6 separate regions of the Homo sapiens genome follow, and regions 1, 2, 3, 5 and 6 are each linked to region 4. Evidence: promoter capture Hi-C in 16 types of primary human blood cells and fetal thymus (Javierre and others, 2016). All regions are on one chromosome and are shown on one strand. The core of a region is centred on a gene start or on the middle of the fragment in contact, and the rest is flanking DNA. Distances in the headings are between cores, read along the strand shown.

Region 1 (3,349 bases), core at 821-3,320, 160 kb before region 4:
GTTAGCCAGGATGGTCTCTATCTCCTGACCTTGTGATCCGCCCGCCTCGGCCTCCCAAAGTGCTGGGATTACAGGCTTGAGCCACTGTGCCCGGCCTGAAAAGGAACTTTCATCACAGCTTTGTGTCTCAAAGAGTTGTAGCATTTTATTTCCTGTATATTGGATTGATTTGAAATTTGTTTTAAAAATGATTTTCGAGAGGACTTTTCCTAAAAAGACTTCTTATTTCTGGAGAAAGCTTTTAGTTCTAGAGATGCTATAATTCAGAAGATTAAAATGTTGACTGGAGAGGCTCAGGTATTTAATAAGTATAAAGAATGATCAGTTAACATCTTTTTTTTTTTTTTTTTTTTTTTTGAGACGGAGTCTTGCTCTGTCACCCAGGCTGGAGTGCAGTGGTGCGATCTCAGCTCACTGCAAGCTCCACCTCCCGGGTTCATGCCATTCGCCTGCCTCAGCCTCCTGAGTAGCTGGGATTACAGGCGCCCGCCACCACACCCGGCTAATTTTTTGTATTTTTAGTAGAGACGGGGTTTCACTGTGTTAGCCAGGATGGTCTCGATCTCCTGACCTCGTGATCCGCCCGCCTCGGCCTCCCAAAGTGCTGGGATTACAGGCGTGAGCCACCGTGCCTGGCGTAGTTAACATCTTAAGGCATAGACTTCAGTGACTGTTTTTCTTTTTGAGACAGCCTTGTTCTGTTACCCAGGTTGGAGGGGAGTGGTATAATCCCAGCTCACTGCAGCCTCAACCTCCCAGGCTCATCAAGTGACCCTCTCATCTCAGCCTCCCAAGTAGCTTCAGAGGTGTGTGTGTGTGTGTGTGTGTGTGTGTGTGTGTGTGTGTATGTGTAGCTAAGGTCCCACTGTAGTGTGTGTGTGTGTGTGTGTGTGTGTGTGTGTGTAGATAAGGTCCCACTGTATTGCCCAGGATGGTCTCAAACTCCTGGTCTCAGGATATCCTCCCGCCTCAGCCTCCCGAAGTGCTGGGATTACAGGTGTGACCATTACAGGTGTGTGAGTCTGGCTATTAGTGACTTTTTTTTTTTTGAGATGGAGTCTTGCTCTGTCTCCAGGCTGGAGTGCAGTGGCACAATCTTGGCTCATTGCAACCTCCACCTCCCGGATTCAAGCGATTCCCCTGCCTCAGCCTCCTGAGTAGCTGGACTACAGGCACATGCCACGATGCCTGGCTAATTTTTTGTATTTTAGTAGAGACGGGGTTTCACCATGTTGGCCAGGATGGTCTCGATAACCTGACCTTGTCATCCGCCTGCCTCGGCCTCCCAAAGTGCCAGGATTACAGGAGTGAGCCACTGTGCCCGGACTTTTGTTTTGTTTTGTTTTGTTTCTGAGACAGTCTTACTCTGTGGCCCAGGCTGGAGAGCAGTGGCACGGTCTTGGCTCACTGCAATCTCTGCCTCCTGGGTTCAATTGATTCTGCCACCTCAGCCTCCCAAGTAGCTTGGACTACAGTTGCGTGCCACCATGTCCAGCTAATTTTTTTAAAAAATTGCTTTTTGGTAGAGATGGGGTTTCATCACATTGGTCAGGCTGAGTGACTTTTTTTTTTTTTTTTGAGACGGAATCTCACTCTGTCACCTAGGCTGGAGTGCAGATGGTGTGGTCTCGGCTCACTGCATTCCACCTCCCGGGTTCAAGCGATTCTCCCGCCTCAGCCTCCCAAGTACCTAGGACTATAGGCACATGCCACCACACCTGGCTAATTTTTGTATTTTTAGTAGTAACGGGGTTTCAGTATGTTGGCCAGGCTCGTCTCGAACTCCTGACCTCATGATCCACCTACCTCGGCTTCCCAAAATGCTGGGATTACAGGTGTGAGCCAGCGTGCCTGGCCCAGATACTTTTTTATGGAGTAAGGATAAAAGTCACTAGTTAAGTGAAATATTAGAAATATTTGTATATTTCCCATAGTTTTAAAAAATTATTATTTTACTGAAAAGTAAGTCCTAAGGATAGAAGCTGATTTCCTTCTCAGCAGTTGTACTGTAAATAACAGTATTAGTAAGCACCTTTTTAGAGTCCTTTCCATTCCCAGCAAGGACTCTCTTTTTTTTGTGGGGGGAGTAGTGACAGGGTCTTGCTGTGTTTCCAGGCTGGTCTCAAAACTCCTTGCTTTAAACATCCTCTCACCTTGGCCTCCCAGAATGCTGAAATAACAGGACTGGGCCGGGTGCGGTGGCTCACTCCTGTAATCCCAGCACTTTGGGAAACTGAAGCGGGTGGATCACAAGGTCAGGAGTTTGAGACCAGCCTGGTCAATATGGTGAAACCCCGTCTCTACTAAAAATATGAAAAAATTAGCTGGGCGTGGTAGCACATGCCTGTAATCACAGCTACTCAGGAGGCTGAGGCAGGAGAATCGCTTGAACCTGGGAGGCCGAGGTTGCAGTGAGCTGAGATTGCGCCACTTTACTCCAGCCTGGGTGACAGAGTGAGACTCCGTCTCAAAAAATAAAAAAACAAAAAACAAAAATTGCGGGAGTTAGCCACCATTCTTGGCCTTTTGAGGGACTCTTGATGTGGATTTTTGCTAATTTATGATTTAGTCTCTTGGCTTCTGCTAACTTCAGCTTTGTGTTTTGTAGCCTTCGTGTTTGGATCAGCTTGCCTTGCACCTTTTTTCTTAATCTAAGTGCTTTGTTTACTGTCATTACTTTAATAAATGTTTTATTTTGGTTATTAGCAGTTCTATTTACAATTATACTTCAGTTCTTCCTAGAAAAGTACTATGTAAATCAGATACATTTATGAAAGCTACTCATTAATTATTGTGAGAATAGTGTCCGAATGTTAGCTTAATGGTCATCGTGATTATTTATATTCCTGCACTTTACTTTTTGATTCTTGCAGTATAAACTCCTGTCTTGTTCTCTGGGGAGGAAGCACACTGTGAATTTTTTCCAAGATTGTCTAAAATATTCAGGCTTTTTATTTGCTCTAACCAGTAGAATCTAAAGATTACAGAAACTTTGGAATTTTTCTCCTCATAATTTGACAATCTTTTGAGAGGTTTGTCAGTTGAACACTGTCCCTTTGTTAAAAGTTAATTTTACTTAATAAATAATTTTTCATTAGATTGGAGTAAAATATAATGTGAGTATGTATGTGCATAAATAATTTTTTTTCGGTGAAGTGCGGGTAGCTCATGCCTGTAATCCCAGCACTTTCTGCTTTTTTTTTTTTTGAGACGGAGTCTCGCTCTGTCGCCCAGGCTAGAGTGCAGTGATGCAATCTCAGCTTACTGTAAGCTCCGCCTCCCAGGTTCACGCCATTCTCCTGCCTCAGCCTCCTGAGTAGCTGGGACTACAGGTGCCCACCACCATTCC
Region 2 (3,765 bases), core at 264-2,763, 220 kb before region 4:
CTAAAGGGTGTGCAGGGGTCAGCCAGGCGAGGCTCTGGAACAAGAGCTATCCAGGCGCTTGCTCTCTGAGCTGGGCACAGCTGAATGTGGCTGAGCATGTGGGAAGTGCAGGATGAGGGCCAGACTCAGGCAGGAACCAAAGCAGCAAGGCTTCCTAGACTCTGTGCCAGGATTGGGGCTTTTTCCCAGGGGGGCAACGGTGAGAAGGAAGAACCCCAAGCCAGTAGAACCCCAAGCCGGTAGAACCCCAAGCCGGTAGGGCAGATGAACTTGCCATAGAGTCCAACTGCCCATAACCACAGAGGTGGTGGCCGGGCCCAGAGAGGGTGTGAGACCGGCCGAGCTCACACAGCTGGTTAGTGGCCAAGCCCTGGGTGTCCTGACTGCCAGAACAGGGCTTTCCCACCCCTCCCACCGCCTCTCTTATCTTCCAAGACCTACTTGTAAACACAGGCAGGCACCTGCAAACATCTGATCACCTCTGCGAGGAGGAGGATGAAGGTGGGGGAATGAAGGCGTGCAGGTGAATCAGGTCAGTGTTGCTCATAGGCTGACCCAGTGCGGATGGTCCCGTCAGTGGCAAGGAGGGCAGGATTCTGCACGGGTGAGAGCACTTGCCCTAGGGGGATGCAGTGAGTCACTGGGTGCAAAGTTCACACTCCTCCTTCCTCCTGGCTTTGATCTGAGTTCCCTGGAGGGAGGTGCAGCCTGGATTCCTGGAGGCGGGGCCATCTCCTCTCCCTGCCCTGCCCTGTGGGTCCAGATTGGGAGGCCGGCTGTCTCCACTCCTCTCTGAACTCCCACACACACCTTTTCGAGGCCCTAGTAAGTTTCCATGTTGGCCTCACTGGCGGGGTCAGACTTGACCTATCACCTAGGACATTCGCTGCAGGAAGTTGGAAGCTTCCCTCTCCTGCTGAGCTCAGCCATGCGTCTTACTGCCTGGTGCCACATTCCGTTCCCTCCTGTCTCTGGGAGGATGATCAGATCTGGCAGAGAGCCCAGGCCTGCCCAACCAGCGGAACAAAATAAATGACCGCAGGGTGGGACTCCGCGGACACCAAGACACCAGGGAACTCTTGGACTGAGCACCAGAGGAACTAACCCCAGTAGCTGCCCCCGAGCAAGGACCTACTACTGATGCTGCCAACAGCCCCGGGAGACAGAAATATTATCACCCTTATTTTATAGAGAGGAGAAAAGAGGGGTGCAAGGGTCATGGGGACAGTGACTGATCCTGACATCCACTAAGGGCCCTCTTGGGTTTTGTGTCATGAGTTGAAAGGGAAGCAGCTGGCAAGGTGGTGTGACATTGAGCTGCGCAAGTGCAGGTGAGATGCGGTGGAGGTGGAGCAGTGGGACTGACCAGTGTTGGGGTTTTGTCAGGACCGCAGGAGGGGGTGGGGGTGGGGCCTGACCATGAATTGTAGGCTGGGCAGGAAGGACACGGAGGGCAGGCAGGCTGAGGGACATGCAAAGGGGGCAGGATCCATGGACTGCTGGAGCCGGGGCACTGGAGGAAAGAAATGAGGTGAGGTCAGAGAGGTCAGTCAATAGATATTATAGAGGAGGGGCAGTCACTGGTCACGGGGGACAGATACTGGGGTGGCACTGCTCCTAGGGTGTAAACCCTTGGCACATAGCCTGCATAGAACAGGCCCTCAGAGAGTATTTGTGGAATGAATGAGTGGCTACTTGCAGTCTGGGGTTGGGTGACTCAAAGGATATTTTACTTTCTTCTCTCTAGCTTTTTTTTTTTTTTTTCTGAGATGGAGTCTCACTCTATTGCCCAGGCTGGAGTGCAGTGGGGCAATCTTGGCCCACTGCAACTTCTGCCTCCCAGGTTCAAGCGATTCTCCTGCCTCAGCCTCCTGAGTAGCTGTGATTACAGGCACCCACCACTATTCCCACTAATTTTTGTATTTTTAGTAAATACGGGGCTTCATCATGTTGGCCAGGTTGGTCTCAAACTCCTGACCTCAGGTAATCTGCCCACCTCAGCCTCCCAAAGTGCTGGGATTACAGGTGTGAGCCACTATGCCCGGCGGCCTGCTTTTATTTATTTATTTTTTTTAATAACAGCTTTACTGAGATATGAATCACACATACAAAATTCACCCTTTTAAAGCTTTCTTTTTTTTGAGACAGGGTCTCGTTCTGTCACACAGGCTGGAGTGCAATGGTGCGATCATGGCTCACTGCAGCCTTGACCTTCTGGGCTCAAGCCATCCTCCAGCCTCAGCCTCTTGAGTAGGCTGGACCATAGGCGCACACCATCTTGCCTGGATAACTTTTGATTTTTCTTTTTTTTTCTGTAGAGATAGGGACTCACTGTGTTGCTCAGGCTGGTCTTGCACTCCTGGGCTCAAGTGATTCTCCCGCCTCAGCCTCCCAAAGTGCTGGGATTACAGGTGTGAGCCACTGTGCCCAACTCTGATTTTTTTACAGTAAGCACATGATAAGGGAGGAGACCACCCCTCATATTGTCTTATGCCCAATTTCTGAATCCAAAGAAAGAAGTAGTAAAAACTAAAAGGCAGAAATGGAATCCACAGGCAGATAGCCCAGCACTGCACCCTGGGCCTGGAGTTAAAAATCAACCCCGACCTAACTCTTCTGTTATCTATAGATTTCAGACATTGTATGGAAAAGCGTCGTGAAAATCCCTGTCCTCTTCCTTTCCGTTCTGATTACCAGTGCATGCAGCCCCCAGTCACGTACCCTCTGCTTACTCAATCGATCACGACCCTCTCACGCGGACCGCCTTAGAGTTGTAAGCCCTTAAAAGGGACAGGAATTGCTCACTCGGGGAGCTCGGCTTTTGGAGACGTGAATCCACCGATGCTCCCAGCTGAATAAAGCCCTTTCCTTCTACAACTCGGTTTCTGAGGGGTTCTTGTCTGAGGCTCATCCTGCTACAATGATACTTTTCTAATATGAACCCATATATGTTTTTAAAATTCATTTTTCTAAAAAGTTAGGATAAATCCATGAGATAGAAAAATAATGGACCAAAACTTAGAGAAAAGATAACTACTGGCTGGGACCCAGGACTGTGGCCAGCCCTGGGCTGATTTGTGGTTTGAGCAAACCACTGCCCTTCCCAGAGCCTCGCCTGTGAGACGGGGGTTGGCAGAAGTGAGCAGGGCAGCAGCTAGGGATTGAGCTGAACTGATGGCATCTCAGGCTCTTCCCAGCCTTAACAGCTCAAGATTTTGGGGCAATCTGGATTCCCACACCTGGTGAGAGAAGCAAATTAAGGAGATGACCTGGTCTTTGGAGTTCTCTTCCCTAAGAGGATAAACACCACAATATTGACAGTCCAGGCAACAAGGCCAAATTCAACCCAGAACAATGTTTTAGGTCACACCATCTCTCATCAATCCCTAATTGAACTGAAGGTATTTAACACCTTATCTGTCTTTTTTTTTTTTTGAGACGGAGTCTTGCTCTTGTTGCCTAGGTTGGAGTGCATTGGCACGATCTCGGCTCACTGCAACCTCTGCCTCCTGGGTTCCAGCAATTTTCCTGCCTCAGCCTCCCAAGTAGCTGGGATTACACGCTTCCACCACTGCGCCCGGCTAATTTTTTCTTTTTTTCTTTTTTTTTAGTAGAGATGGGGTTTCTCCATGTTGGCCAGGCTGGTCTTGAACTCCTGACCTTGTGATCCTCCCGCCTTGGCCTCCCAAAGTGCTAGGATTACAGGCATGAGCCACCGTGCCCAGCCTTATCTGCCATTTTTTATCTTCCATTCTAAACCAGTCC
Region 3 (3,438 bases), core at 875-3,374, 240 kb before region 4:
GAATCTGTTGGCTCATGGTGCTGGGATCACTGATGGTATTGAGCGATGGCATCAGGACTCTCTCCATTTTTTTTTTTTTTTTTTTTGGACACAGTCTTACTCTTGTTGCCAGGCTGGAGCGAAGTGGTGCGATCTCAGCTCACTGCAACCTCTACCTCCAGGGTTCAGCAATTCTCCTGCCTCAGCCTCCCGAGTAGCTGGGATTACAGGCGCGCACCACCACACCTGGCTAATTTTTGTATTTTTAGTAGAGACAGGGTTTCACCATGTTGGCCAGGCTGGTCTGGAACTCCTGACCTCAGGTGATCCGCCCACTTCCACCTCCCAAAGTGCTGGGATTACAGGCATGAGCAACCACGCCCAGCCTCTTTCCATCTCTTGGCTCTCCCTTGTTTGTGTGTTTGCTTCATTTTCTCTGCCTGTGGGCTGGCCTTCTCTGTGGGGAGGTGGGGCACAGTGCATGGGCATAGGTGGCCCAGGTTTGCATCTCCCCAGCTTAGAAACCCTAGGGGAAAGAGAGAGCACACCCCCTCCAGGGAAGCCAGACAGTCCCTAGAAGGCCTCTAATCACCCCAGCTAGGGTCACATGCTCATTCAGGGCCAGTCACTGTGGCTGGGGTGCTAGGATTGATAACCACTGGGGCCAGGGAGGCAGAACCATATAAAAAAGGAGGGGTTGTTACAACTGGAGGAAGGGAGAAGAGGATGCTGGACAGATCCACACCACAGTGCCTTTTCCAGGTGCTGGGCAAGAGAATGTAGAAATCAGCTTTGGGGGCCTGGTGCAGTGCCTCACACCTGTAATCCCAGCACTTTGGGAAGCTGAGATGGGTGGATTACTTGAGCTCACGAGTTCGAGACCAGCCTGGGCAACATGGTGAAACCCTGTCTTAAAAATAAATAAATAAAAATAAAAAATAAATCAGCTTTGGGATAAAGAAGGCAGTGATGGTCTAACCAGGATGGTAGAATCAAAGGCACTCATGTAGGAGGCAATGCTTGACTGGGCCTTGCAGGATGAGTAGGAGTTTGCCAGATATTCATAGAGGGGAGAAGTCCAGAAAGGGGAAAAGAGCTACAAAAATCCACGGTAACACGAGCAAGCCTGAAGAATCAGAGGAAGTGGAAGCTTCTTTTTCTTTTTTTTTTTTGAGATGGGATTTCACTCGCGTTACCCAGGCTGGAGTGCAATGGCGTGATCTCAGCTCACTGCAACCTCCACCTCCCGAGTTCAAGCGATTCCCCTGCCTCAGCCTCCCGAGTAATTGGGATTACAGGCATGCACCACCACGCCCAGCTAATGTTTTGTATTTTTAGTAAAGATGTGGTTTCTCCATGTTGGTCAGGCTGGTCTCAAACTCCTGACCTCAGGTGATCTGCCCACCTCAGCTTCCCAGAGTGCTGGGATTACAGGCGTGAGCCACCGTGCCCAGCGTTTTTTTATTTTTGAGACAGTCTCACTCTGTCTCCCAAGTTAGAGTGCAGTGGCATGATCTTGGCTTACTGCAACCTCCAGCTCCCTGGTTCAAGCAATTCTCCCTGCCTCAGCCTCCTGAGTAGCTGGGATTACAGGTGCGTGCCACCACGCCCGGCTAATTTTTGTATTTTTAGTAGAGATGTTGTTTCTCCATGTTGGCCAGGCTGGTCTTGAACTCCTGACCTCAGGTGATCCACCTGCCTCGGCCTCCCAAAGTGCTGGGATTACAGGCATGAGCCACTGCACCCAGCCTAGATCAACTCTTTTGAATGTTACTTTTTCACTTAGAAATTGTCTCTTTTAAATTGTTTTTATTAAATTTTTATTTATTTATTTTTTGAGATGGCGTCTCACTCTGTCACCCAGGCTGGAGTGCACCAGTGCGATCTCAGCTCACTGCAACCTCCACCTCCTGGGTTCATGCGGTTCTCCTGCCTCAGCCTACCAAGCAGCTGGGACTACAGGCATGTGCCACCACACCTGACTAATTTTTGTATTTAGTAGAGATGAGATTTCACCACGTTGGCCAGGCTGGTCTTGAACTCCTGACCTCAAGTGATCCACCTGCCTCAGCCTCCCAAAGTGCTGGGATTACAGGTGTGAGCCACTGCACCCGGCCAGAAGTGGAAGTTTGTAGATGTGACTGGAGTGTAGAGGGCTGGGGTTATGGTTAATGATTAGGTCAGAGAGAAGGAAAGGACTATGGTGCCAGGCTAGAGAGTCTGGACTTCAGGCTGCAGAGAGGGGTCAGGCTGAGATGGGCGAGCTGATTAGAAGCTGGTGCAGTTGTCCCAGGAAGAAGGGCCCAGGAGTCATCACATGTGGCTTGGTGATCAGAAGGGTCCTATGCTAGTTTTGAAGTTCTGCTATTGCTGTCTTTAAATTCTTGATTTTTGTTTGTTTGTTTGTTTTTAATAGAGACAGAGACTGGAGTCAGGCTGGAGTGCAGTAGTGTGATCATAGCTCACTGTAGCCTTGAACGAACTTTTGGGCTCAAGCAGTTCTCTCACCTTAGCATCCTGAGTAGCTGGAAGTACAGGTGCGCACCACCACGCCCAGCTAATTTTTTTATTTTTAAAATTTTTGTAGAGTTGACTTCTCTACAAAAATTTGCCCAGGCTGGTCTTGAACTCCTAGGCTCAAGCGATCCTCTCACCTTGGCCTCCCAAAGTGCTGAGATCACATGCATGAGCCACTGCGCACGGCCTGAAATTCTTAAATTTTTTTTTTGTAGAGACTGAGTCTCACTTTGTTACCCAAGCTGGAGTACAGTGGCGCTATCTCGGCTCACTGCAACCTCTGCCTGTCAGGTTCAAGCAATTCTCTTGCCTCAGCCTCCTGAGTAGCTGGAATGACAGGCTTACACCACCATGCCCGGGTAATTTTTTGTATTTTTAGTAGAGATGGGGTTTCGCCATGTTGGCCAGCCTGGTGTTGAACTCCTGATCTCAAGTGATCTGCCCGCCTTGGCCTCCCAAAGTGCTGGGTGGCGTGAGCCACCACACCCAGTCAAAATTCTTAATTTTTGAACAAGGGGCCCCACATTTTTATTTTGTCCTAGATCGTACAAATTATGTAGTCAGTCCTGCTGAGGAGGCTCAGAAATCCTCTCCCACCCCTTCTACAGCTGGCTCCTTGTCACTGAAGCTTCTGTCTTCTCCGGTGATGGTGACAAGGTGGCAACTTTTATGCGGGGACCTAAGTGGAGAGCCCCAGAGCAGATCTCTTACTCAGCCGATGAGTATTTCGACACACCTGTTCACTCCCATTTATTTAAACAGATACTGGAACCCAGAGGCTATTTTCACTGAGGTTATCAAAGGAGCTGGGTAGAGAAGTTGATAAATTGCTGAGTAATTACATTGTCTTTGTTGGTTATAGGTCAAAGTCCTGCTGATAATGCATTTTGAAAGCCCAGTGAGGAAGTTTAAGTGCTGTTATCCCCAACATCATCCTCACGA
Region 4 (3,355 bases), core at 590-3,089:
TCACTGTTGGGGGTGGCAGGGCTGGCACATGCTGCCTGTGGGTTTTGGTGCCCCCAGTCCATGGCATCCCTGGCAGGGACGCCCAGAAATCCACCCTTGAATGTGGAGGGGAAGAAGCCAGTCCTTGGGGGCTTAGGAGGAGGCTTGGGTCAGGTCCTCTCCTCTCTCCTGGCAGCCGTGGCTGTCCCTGGGCAACGCCCCTGTTCAGGCCTGGCCATACCCTCTCCAGGGTGGAGGCCCCAGTGCCTCCTAGAAGTTCGGACTCAGACACGCTAGAGACCCAGTGACCCTGAGACCTGTGGGCGGGCGCTGTGTGTGGTTTGGAGTGTGTGTGACCCGAAACTGCAGGGCCCCTGCCCAGCCTCGGGCCTAATTTAGGGGTCCCAAGATGGGGGATGGGTCTCCAGCTGTGGGAGGGAAGAGGGCTTGAGGTGGGTCACATGGAGAAACCCCTCCCCCCACTGCCCAGGTGAGTTCCCCACCTACCCGCATCCGCCCCCCTATAGCTACCAGAGGAGCTGTCCTCACTCTGCCATCACCATCTCACACCTGTCATCTCCCACCCTCAAGCCCCACCCCCTCAGGCTCCCTCTGCCCACATCCCTCCATCCCTCTCCCATTCCTCGGAGGCTCCCTCAGCTGCTCAGGCCCTGGAAGAAAGGATCTGGGAACCTCGGTGCAAAGAGAGGCAGTGAGGGGGCCCCATGGCCATGGGTTGCAGGGACAAGGCCTTCAGTTAGCCCTGGGGGAGTTTGGGTGGGGAAGGGACACTGGCCAGGGTCTGGGGTCCCAGGATGGTAAGGGGGAGTAGGAGACATTGGAGGCAGGAGCAGAATTTGGGATGCGGTGAGTAGGGGGTGGGGGGCTCACCTTCTCAGCCCGCACCTCGATGTGGTTGTTGGAGGTGGTGACAATGATGTCTTCAGGTGAGAAGTCTCTCACGTCCACCGCAAACTCATAGGCGTCTCCTAGGGTCTTGATGTTGCCTGCCCCACCGGGGCGGGCTGTGGGATGGGCTGCTGTGAGCGAGGCATGGAGCAGGCCTTGCATGCAGATCCGGGGGTTCTGGCTCCTTCTCTTGGGGCAAGGGGCGGCTCCCCCAGGCCCTACCTCCCCCCTAGCTGTTTCTCCCTAAGCTCCTCCTCATTCCTACAGCCCACCTTTTCTGGGGTGGGGGTGGGGCCTCACCCAGCACAGTGTGTGTGTATATGAGGCTAGGTCTGTAACAACCCCACCCCAGGCCTGGAGCCTGGGGGCTGCCCCCCACCGCTCACCCATCCAGCCCTCCAGGGCTCCAGCTGGGATTGGCTGTGGTTACAGAGCATGGGTGGCCATGGAACCATGTCCAACCCCCAGGGCCACAACTGTTCCTTAGAGGCCCACCTGTTTTCATGGCCACATCTGTCCCTGTGGCCACATCTGTCTTGGTGGCCACACATGGCTGCAGGCTGTGCAGCACCTGTTCCAGGCCGACCGGCAGCCACAGCGCCTTCGGTGGCGCCCTGGAGCAGACGTCCCCTCCCTGTGCACCTCCCCTCCCCTCAGGGCCCGGATCACTTGCCTGGGAAGGCCAGGGGCTCCGAGTGGGGCCGCATGAAGCTGCCAAAGTCATCGGAAAACATGCTCAGGGCCTTCTCCATGGGCGGGTCCTGGGCCGGGAGAGCACGGGAGGCCGAGGAGGAGGTGGAAGAGGAGGAGGAAGAGGAAGAGGAATGGAAACTTCTCTCCGCTCGGAAGGTGGAAGAGGTTCTGTGGCTCATCCACGGACGGCGCCGGGCCCTGCCCAGGCGGGCGAGGGCTGGACAGGAGAGGGTGTGGGCGCAGGCCTCTGGGCGAGCGTGCCAGGCTCCGACTGCGGCCGCTTTATAAGGCCGACTGTCCCTGGGCTTGGGGCCAGCCCCTTGTCTACTAGCTAAATTTAGGCCTCTCCATGGCCCAGAGGGGGCTGGAAATCTTCTCCCGTGCGCCGGCCCTGCTGACAGCCCGACACGCAGGCCGAGAGGGCTGAGCTCACAGCCTGACATTCCAGGCTGATCACAGCAGCCCCAGGGGCCTCCTCACCACTGCACAGGGCTGGATCCTGTCTCCTTGCCACTCGGACCTCGGTGCCTGCCCCAGAACCTTGCAAGTTTGGGGTTTATTGTGTGTTTTGTTTCCCCCGTCAGCCTGGGGGCTCCTGAGGACTGTGCCTCCCCTCCAGACTCTGGTTCTCCTCCACGGCTGTACCTCCTCCATCAGTGTGCAGGCTCCTTGGGGACAGGGTAGGTGGAAGCACCACCGCTCTGTGACGTCAGGAGCTCCTTCCCTCAAGGCAGACAACCTTCACAGCCCATCTCTAAGGAAAGGTTGAGCCCTGCCAGGGGGTGTAAAATGTGCAGCTGTCCCCTGCCAGCCCCCATGGGGACCTGGATTCTGTGCCTGCACTCCCTCTGACTCTCAGAACATTCAGCAGCCCCAAGAGGACAAAGTTGGCAGCTTTCTCCTTAAAGGTCTAGAAGGTTGTGTTCCCGGCAACTGTCTGCTCCATCTCTGTGTCAGAGGTGATGCCTGCGAGCGCCTTAGGTGGGATTTCAGTCAGAGGTAAAAGAGAATTCCGGAAGACAATTATTCTAGCCCTGAGTTCTAGAATGCCTTCTGGGCATGGGCTCCTGGCTGCAAGCTGTCCAGCACGGCCCCGTTTGATCCCCACACAGCTGGGAGGGTGGAGGGGCTCTTCCCATGTTACGGACGGGGAAGCGAAGCCTCTTGGAAAGGGCGGGGCTCGCAGTTGCGTAAGTGGCAGAGCTGGGATTCGAACCTAGATGTGTTGGACCCAAAGCCCTTCAGAGGCCGAGGTGGTTTGAACATGTGCCTATGGAGACAGGCTGGCCCGGAAGAGCCAGAGAAGCCCCTCCCTACCCACCTGCTTGCTCAGCAAAGCTGGGACTGACCTTGCCCTGGGCCAGGGTGGAGGCCATTCTGAGAGGCGGCCAGGCCCTCTGCTCTGCCCAGGTTGCAGTTAAGGGCCTCTGCTGTCCTCTCCAAATCCGTCCCTTCCGTCCCAGATCAGCTCCAATGCCTCCTCCCCCAGGGAGGCCTCTCTGACTGCTCCTGCTCACATGGGCCCACACCCAGTCCAGATGCCCCCAGCACTGACTGTCTTTGTCCTCCCACAGCACCTGGCAGTGTGACATAGTCTTCCTGTGTGCTGTGACTCTCTGCTGTGTCCCTTCTTCCCTATCCAACTGGCAGTTCCCACGGGGGCGAGGGTTCACCTGTCTCCCCATTAGATTGAAGGTTCTTGAAGACGGGCAGTTTCTCTTTTGTCTGAGCCCCCTACAACCCAGTCTGGAGCTTCATCCTGGAGAGCTCCTTC
Region 5 (3,819 bases), core at 1,073-3,572, 200 kb before region 4:
CACCACACCCAGCTAATCTTTTAAAAAATATATTTAGTAGAGACGGGGGTTCACCATGTTGGCCAGGCTGGTCTTGAACTTATGACCTCAGGTGATCCGCCTGCCTCTGCCTCCCAAAGTGCTGGGATTATAAGCGTGAGCCACCACGCCTGGCCTGAGCATTTTTTCTAAATAATCTTGAAAGGCCTGGTGCTGGGTTAATAGCAGGAACTAGGCTAGTAGCGTAATTAAACATCCCCATATTGCAACACTTAAACATATGGGAATCCCAATGAGTTCCTAATGTATAATTCCTAAATTTAATCCTAAATTGTTCCAATGAATCCTTTTATATGACCTTGGCTAATTATGTAATATCTTAATCTCCAGTGGTAATGATAAATGTGAAAATGATGGCGTGAGTTGATTCATTTCTCCTTGCAGATATTCTATCAGGACCAATGATAAGGGCTTCTAGAAATAAAACCTCAGCAGACAGGAAACTGCCTTCAAACTTCAGCAATCAAGAATATTACTTACTTTAGTCCCTGGAATGCATGAGACAATGGAAATGCACTGAATTAGATTTTTACAAAATTTTTATCAGCTAGAACTTTGGTTCAGATCACTCCTATAATATTCAGGAAGACCATACAGACTTATCATGAAAATGAATAGTTCAGTTTACTTGGGGTATGATTAGTTAGGAAGGAATTAAGAAATCCGTAGCAGAAATATCCATACATTTAAAAGTTAATTCTGGCCAGGCACAGTGGCTCACACCTGTAGCCCCAGGACTTTGGCAGGCTGAGGTGAGTAGATCACCAGAGGTCAGGGGTTCAAGCCAGCTTGGCCAACATAGTGAAACCCGTCTCTACTAAAAATACAAAAAAAATTAGCCAGGCGTGGTGGCGTGTGCCTGTAGTCCCAGCTACTCAAGGGGCTGAGGTGGGAGAATAGCTTGAACCCGGGAGGTGGAGGTTGTAGTGAGCTGAGATCATGCCACTGCACTCCAGCCTGGGCAACAGAGCGAGACTCCATCTCAAAAAAAAACAACTTAATTATGTTACACAGAAAAGTTACAACTCTAATGCTGCATTTGCTTTGGAAATTATAAGCTACCAAGAAGAAAGAAAAGAAAAAAGACGGCTAGGTGGGTGCAGTGGCTCTGACCTCAGCACTTTGGGATGCCAGGGCAGGTGGATTGCTTGAGCCCAGTAGTTTAAGACCAGCCTGGGCAACAGGGCAAAACCCCATCTCTACAAAAAATACAAAAACTAGCAGGGCAGCGTGGTGTGTGCCTCTAGTCCCAGCTACGTGGGAGGCTGAGGGGGGAAGATGGCTTGAGCTCAGGAGGTGAAGAGGTTGCAATGAGCTATGATCATGCCACTGTACTCCAGCCTGGGTGAGAGAGTGAGATCCTGTCTAAAAAAAAAAAGATAAAAATAAAAAGATGTAATATAACACTCACGTGCCCAGCATTATAAATGTAATTCGGGATTTAATTTATGACATAAAGCTAATTGACTTCACAGCTTTGTATGCTGTCTTTTTTGAACTCCTGGCCTCAAGCGATCCCCCCACTTTGGCCTCCCAAAGTGCTGGGGTGACAGGCATGAGCCACTGATCCTGGCCTTTTTATGCTTTTAACAGTTCTATAGGGCCAGGTGCAGTGGCTCACGCCTGTAATCCCAGCACTTTGGGAGGCCGAGAGGGGAGGATCATTTGAGGTCAGGAGTTTAAGACCAGCCTGGCCAAAATGGTTAAACCCTGTCTCTACTAAAAATACAAAAAAAATGAGCCGGGCGTGGTGGCGCACACCTGTAATCCCAGCTACTCAGGAGGGTGAGGCAGGAGAATCACTTGAACCCAGGAGGTGGAGGTTGCAGTGAGCCGAGATTGTGTCACTGTGCTCCAGCTTGGGTGACAGAGTGAGACTTTATCTCAAAAAACAAACAAACAAAAAAACAACACAGACAGTTCTGTAATACTATATGGTTTTATAGGGCAAAACTATTTTGTAAAATATTATTATACTCCATCCATGAATTTCAAAGCAGTTGACAGAATCATTAGAGTCTTGGTGTATTCCTCTATGCTTTTAAAAAAATCCATTTAAGAAATAAAAAAGCCGGGCATGGTGGCTCACGCCTGTAATCCCAGCACTTTGGGAGGCCGAGGCATGTGGATCACAAGGTCAGGAGATTGAGACCATCATGGCTAACACGGTGAAACCCCATCTCTACTAAAAATACAAAACATTAGCTGGGCATGGTGGTGGGCGCCTGTAGTCCCAGCTACTCGGGAGGCTGAGGCAGGAGAATGGTGTGAACCCGGGAGGCGGAGCTTGCAGTGAGCCAAGATTGTGCCACTGCACTCCAGCCTGGGCGACAGAGCGAGACTCTGTCTCAAAAACAAAAAAAAGAAAAGAAGTAAAAAAAGCCGGGCGTGGTGGCTCATGCCTGTAATCCCAGCACTTTGGGAGGCCGAGGCGAGCAGATCACGAGGTCAGGAGTTTGAGACCAGCCTGGCCAAGATAGTGAAACCCCATCTCTACTAAAAATACAAAAAATTAGCTGGGCGTGGTGGGGGGCATCTGTAATCCCAGCTACTTGGGAGGCTGAGGCAGAAGAATCGTTTGAATCCGGGAGGTGGAGGTTGCAGTGAGCTGAGATCACGCCACTGCACTCCAGCGCTGGCGACAGTGCGAGACTCTGTCACAAAAAAAAAAAAAAGAAGTAAAAAAACTCAGTGGACTTTATCCTCATATTAACATAAACAGTTTAAATAGTATTTCTCAGATTATAAAGCACGTTTACATCTATTATCTGATTTGATTGAATGTTCAAAACAATCCTGTGGGGTAGATGTGTTATATATACTTAATAGATTTAATAAATTTCTAAAATTAACTCAATGAATATTTGTCGAGCAACTACTGTTTGCCAGGCACTAGTCTAGAAGATGACCATTCAGACAAAAAGAAAACACACCAAGACCCTACAAAAATGTTTATGTAACTTGCCCAAGAACACAGAAGGTGAATCCAATCATTTTGACTGGTGTATTCTATCATTTTTTCTATCTTAATTTGGAAAAATGAAGCATAGATTTTTTTTTTTTTTTTGAGACGGAGTCTCGCTCTGTCGCCAAGGCTGGACTGCAATGGCGTGATCTCGGCTTACTGCGACCTCCACCTCCCAGGTTCAAGCAATTCTCCTTCCTCAGCCTCCTGAGTAGCTGAGACTACAGGCATGCGCCACCACGCCCAGCTAATTTTTGTATTTTTTTTTTTTTTTTGGTAGAGATGGGGTTTCACCATGTTGGCCAGGCTGGTCTTGAACTCCTGACCTCAGGTGATCCACCTGCTTTGGCCTCCCAAAGTGTTGGGATTACAGGCGTGAACCATGGTGCCCAGCCAGCATAGATAATTATCTTGACTCTGTCTCTTGGTAAATTTGTGGCATTTCTGGCATGGACTTGCTCAACCACATTTGCTTGCCAGCATCTGCCCCCATACATTCCATCCTCCAGTCCTCTACTAGCTGAACTATCGAAAGCCAGTTCCTTTGCTTATGCAGCCCTTCCCTCCTACTTCAGGGCTCAGGTCATCCTGTCAATTCTTTCCACTCTCCAACCCACATCCATTCCCTACTCCCAGACTGGGCAACACAGTGAGACCCTGTCTCTACAAAAAATTTTAAAATTAGCCGGGGGTGGTGGCATGCTCTTGTATTCACAGACACCTGGGAGGCTGAGGCAGAGAGGGGAGGATCCCTTGTACCCAGGAGTTAAAAGCTGCAGTGAGCCATGATCACATCACTGCTGGGTGACAGAGCA
Region 6 (3,518 bases), core at 822-3,321, 140 kb before region 4:
TGGTCAATGGTGAAACCCTGTCTCTACTAAAAATACAAAAATTATCTGGAGGTGGTGGTGGGTGCTTGTAATTCCAGCTACTCAGGAGGCTGAGGCAGAAGAATAGCTTGAGCCCAGGAGGTGGAGGTTGCAGTGAGCTGAGATAGCTAGAGGAGAATGATGCCTTCAGAGTAGCATTATACTTTGATGGGAGTATAATGGATCCGCCCTCAGAACTGTAGGCTCAGAAGCTTGAACCTAGAGGTGATCTGATGAATTTGATGGAGCTTAGTCCCTGCTCATGTAATTAAAAAAAAATAAAAAGCAGCTGTATGCTTCTAAATGTTTGCACTCAGAAAGATAACTGCTAGAAGGGTAGGATGCACTTAGAAAATCTGCCTGGGGAGTAAATTACAATAAAAAAGTTAGTGAGAAAGAGGATTTTTGATGATTATTTTATCAAGTTAGGGTAGCTAGATGTATTCATTTATATACCAAAGGCTACAACCTAGAAGTCTGGAGGGTGACATCTGACCAGCAGACAAATTTTTTTTTTTTTGAGGCGGAGTCTCGCTCTGTCACCCAGGCTGGAATGCAGTGGCACGATCTCGGCTCACTGCAAGCTCCACCTCCCGGGTTCACGCCATTCTTCTGCCTCAGCCTCTCGAGTAGCTGGGACTACAGGCTCCCGCTACCACGCCCAGCTAATTTTTTGTATTTTTAGTAGAGATGGGGTTTCACCGTGTTAGCCAGGATGGTCTTGATCTCCTGACCTCGCCATCCGCCCGCCTCGACCTCCCAAAGTGCTGGGATTACAGGCGTGAGCCACCGCGCCTGGCCCAGCAGACAAATTTAATTCACCTTGTATAGTGTTTTAAATTTAAATTATTGCCAGTGTTTAAAAAATTGGAATTTCCACCTAAAAGGCCAGATTTGGGCTCTTGTATGTTTTTTTCCCTCTGATTTGCACTGTAGGACCATACCTGACAAGGAAGTAAGGCATACTGAAATCTGCTGGTTGAAGGCACCTTCTTACCGTGGGCTTGGGGAAGAATCACTGAGAGATTCTTGCTCTGTTACCACTGTCTTATGTCTGTGTAGATTCTTCCTTTTTATAAATCACTATTTTTTTTTCCCTTCTGAGAGGTTATAGAGCATTTACTTAGGTTATTGGTTTCATTTCATATATAGTCATATTTTCTAGAGCTAACAGATTTCAACCCTATATTTACATGTTGCTTTTAGTGAGTTACTTGAACCTCATTCATTAACTTATTGATTCCTTCTAGTTTCACTGATGTGACAAATTTTATGTAATTATAGCTTTTTTTTTTTTTTTTTTTTTTGAGACAGGGTCTCACTCTCGCCCAGGCTGGAGTGCGGTGGCGCAATCTTGGCTCACTGCAACCTCTGCCTCTCGGGTTCAAGCGATTCTCTTGACTCAGCCTCCTGAGGAGCTGGGATTACAGGCACTGCCACCATGCCCGGCTAATTTTTGTATTTTTTAGTAGAGACAGGGGTTTCACTACATTGGCTAGGCTGGTCTCGAACTCCTGACCTCAAGTGATCCACCCACCTCAGCCTCCCAGAGTGCTGGGATTACAGGCATGAGCCACTGTGCCCGGCCAATGATAGCTTTTGTATCTATACATAAAAAGAACAGTGAGATAAATCTTTTGACTGCTGGGAAGACCTGATAGGTAGCATTTGGTTAGGCTATGAAGGATATGCAGGACTTCAACAAGAAGAGAGGAGGTTTAGGCTAGACAGGGAACACTGTGGGCAGAAGGAACAACCTGAGGTGGAAGGATGTTTTGAGCATAGCAGATAATTTAGAATGATTTAACTGTGGTAATGATTTTTTTTTTATTTTGAAGAGACAGAATCCTGCTCTGTTGCCCAGGCTGCTGGAGTGCAGTGGTCATAGCTCCTGGGCTCAAACCATCCTCCTGTTTCAGTCTCCTGAGTAGCTGGGATTATAGGTGCACATCACTTACACCTTGCTAATTTTTAAATTTTTCGTAGAGACAAAGTCTCACTTTGTTGTCCAGGCTGGTCTTGAGCTCCTGGCTTCAAGCGATCTTCCCTCCTCTGCCTCCCAAGTGCTAGGATTACAGGTGTGAGCCATCACGCCCAACTTTTGGGTTTTATTCTGTATGCAGAGAGGGCCATTAAAAGATTTAAGAAAGGAGATAGCTTGTTGAGATCTCTGCTTTAGAAAGGCAACTGGTGACTTATCCATAATCTCTGTTTTTCCTACTCTTGGTACCTCAGAGAAGGAAAATTTGGAACAGGTGGGAGAGACATTGTATTAAGAATCAGATTATCCTGATGTGTAAAAAGCAGAATGAACTTTCTGGTGATATGAAAGAACAAGACTGAGTGGCCTGAATGCATATCACAGAACCTAGTATATTGCCTTTCTCAGAATACATGTCCAATAAGTAGTTGAAATACTTAGATACAGTTCTTAGTTAACATGAAGGATAAAGCAAAATTGATGTAGATAGCTAAAAGTTTTTGTCATTTAAATTGTGATTGAAGCAAGTGTACAGAAATAATCCTCTGGTGTTCAGTTTACATTATTCCCTTTTATCAGATGTTCTCTTTTCCTCTTTAATTATATTGAATTCAAAGTGTAATATTTTGAGATGTTATGAAATTCAGAATGTTCAGTTTTCCTTTTGGAAGAAATAAGTTATTTCTTGTGATCTTTACAACTTGTGAAACTGTGACATTCCTGAAAGTCCTTTAAAGATGTTTAAAGTTAGCACTCGTATAGTGGACAAAATATAGCTTGGTTTTACCTATGGAAACAAGTTTGTCTTCTGTCTCCATGACTGATGGGGAAATTAATCACCCTCCATCCTTATTAATAGTTACACTTTTGATGAAGAGATTGCTAGTGGGGTATTTCAGATGAGTAAACATGGGATTAATGGCAGTCTAGTTGTGAAGTCCTTATAAATAACACATCTATTGTTTCTGCAAAACCATTTACAGTATTTTACTGGTGAGAACTGGGCCTTCATGGCTCCATGTGCTGCTATGTACTGCTCGACGTCTTTTTGTTTCTCTGTCATGGCCGTTTATTGAGCCACATTTCCTTTCAACAGAACATTTTAAATGCGTAAATTCCACAGAAGCATTTATTTTAAAATCCCTTGATTGAAGTTGAACATACTTTATTTCTATAGTTCCCTATTATTGGATTCCCGCCCCCCCAATCAAGTTGTAAGAATTTCCTTTAGGCCAGGTGCAGTGGCTCACACCTGTAATCCCAGCACGTTGGGAGGTTGAGGCGGGTAGATCATGAGGTCAGGAATTCAAGATCAGCCTGGCCAAGATGGTGAAACCCCATCTCTACTAAAAATACAAAAATTAGCCAGGTGTAGTGGTGGGCGCCTGTAATCCCAGCTACTATGGTGGCTGAGGTGCGAGAATCGCTTGAACCTGGGAGATGGAGGTTGCAGTGAGCCAAGATCGTACCACTGCACTCCAGCCTGGGCAACAGAACAAGACTCCATTTCAAAAAAAGA

Evidence for each region. The method cuts DNA at HindIII sites, captures the fragments that hold promoters and counts their contacts. A CHiCAGO score of 5 or more calls a contact.
Region 1: a fragment that was not itself captured here is called in contact with the fragment with the promoter of HSPB7 in region 4 in 1 of 17 cell types (activated CD4 T cells); the score reaches 6.2 in activated CD4 T cells.
Region 2: a contact is called between a fragment that was not itself captured here and the fragment with the promoter of HSPB7 in region 4, in 16 of 17 cell types (endothelial precursors, activated CD4 T cells, M1 macrophages and 13 more). The highest score is 25.8, in endothelial precursors.
Region 3: a fragment that was not itself captured here is called in contact with the fragment with the promoter of HSPB7 in region 4 in 5 of 17 cell types (endothelial precursors, activated CD4 T cells, naive B cells and 2 more); the score reaches 7.9 in endothelial precursors.
Region 5: a contact is called between a fragment that was not itself captured here and the fragment with the promoter of HSPB7 in region 4, in 5 of 17 cell types (endothelial precursors, activated CD4 T cells, total B cells and 2 more). The highest score is 10.9, in endothelial precursors.
Region 6: a contact is called between a fragment that was not itself captured here and the fragment with the promoter of HSPB7 in region 4, in 1 of 17 cell types (activated CD4 T cells). The highest score is 7.1, in activated CD4 T cells.

The regions. Positions count from the first base shown.
Region 1 is chr1:15,859,573-15,862,921 of GRCh38, forward strand. The region is part of intron 1 of SPEN (spen family transcriptional repressor); the gene reads left to right. Among named protein-coding and RNA genes, the nearest start is that of SPEN-AS1, 13 kb to the left of the region's middle. The HindIII fragment of the contact is 3,669 bases long and covers 237-3,349 here.
Region 2 is chr1:15,799,664-15,803,428 of GRCh38, forward strand. No RefSeq gene overlaps it. Among named protein-coding and RNA genes, the nearest start is that of UQCRHL, 6.1 kb to the right of the region's middle. RefSeq lists an enhancer at 571-865. The HindIII fragment of the contact is 1,225 bases long and covers 902-2,126 here.
Region 3 is chr1:15,777,507-15,780,944 of GRCh38, forward strand. All of the region lies in intron 8 of FBLIM1 (filamin binding LIM protein 1), which reads left to right. Among named protein-coding and RNA genes, the nearest start is that of FBLIM1, 20 kb to the left of the region's middle. The HindIII fragment of the contact is 1,995 bases long and covers 1,128-3,122 here.
Region 4 is chr1:16,016,204-16,019,558 of GRCh38, forward strand. It overlaps HSPB7 (heat shock protein family B (small) member 7), which reads right to left and starts at 1,840. Exons shown (of 3, transcript NM_014424.5): 1 at 1,562-1,840; 2 at 871-1,004. The coding sequence starts at 1,760. RefSeq lists enhancers at 642-1,388, 1,389-2,133. The HindIII fragment of the contact is 15,911 bases long and covers 1-3,355 here.
Region 5 is chr1:15,817,137-15,820,955 of GRCh38, forward strand. No RefSeq gene overlaps it. Among named protein-coding and RNA genes, the nearest start is that of UQCRHL, 11 kb to the left of the region's middle. The HindIII fragment of the contact is 8,082 bases long and covers 1-3,819 here.
Region 6 is chr1:15,879,151-15,882,668 of GRCh38, forward strand. The region is part of intron 3 of SPEN (spen family transcriptional repressor); the gene reads left to right. Among named protein-coding and RNA genes, the nearest start is that of SPEN-AS1, 33 kb to the left of the region's middle. The HindIII fragment of the contact is 3,686 bases long and covers 229-3,518 here.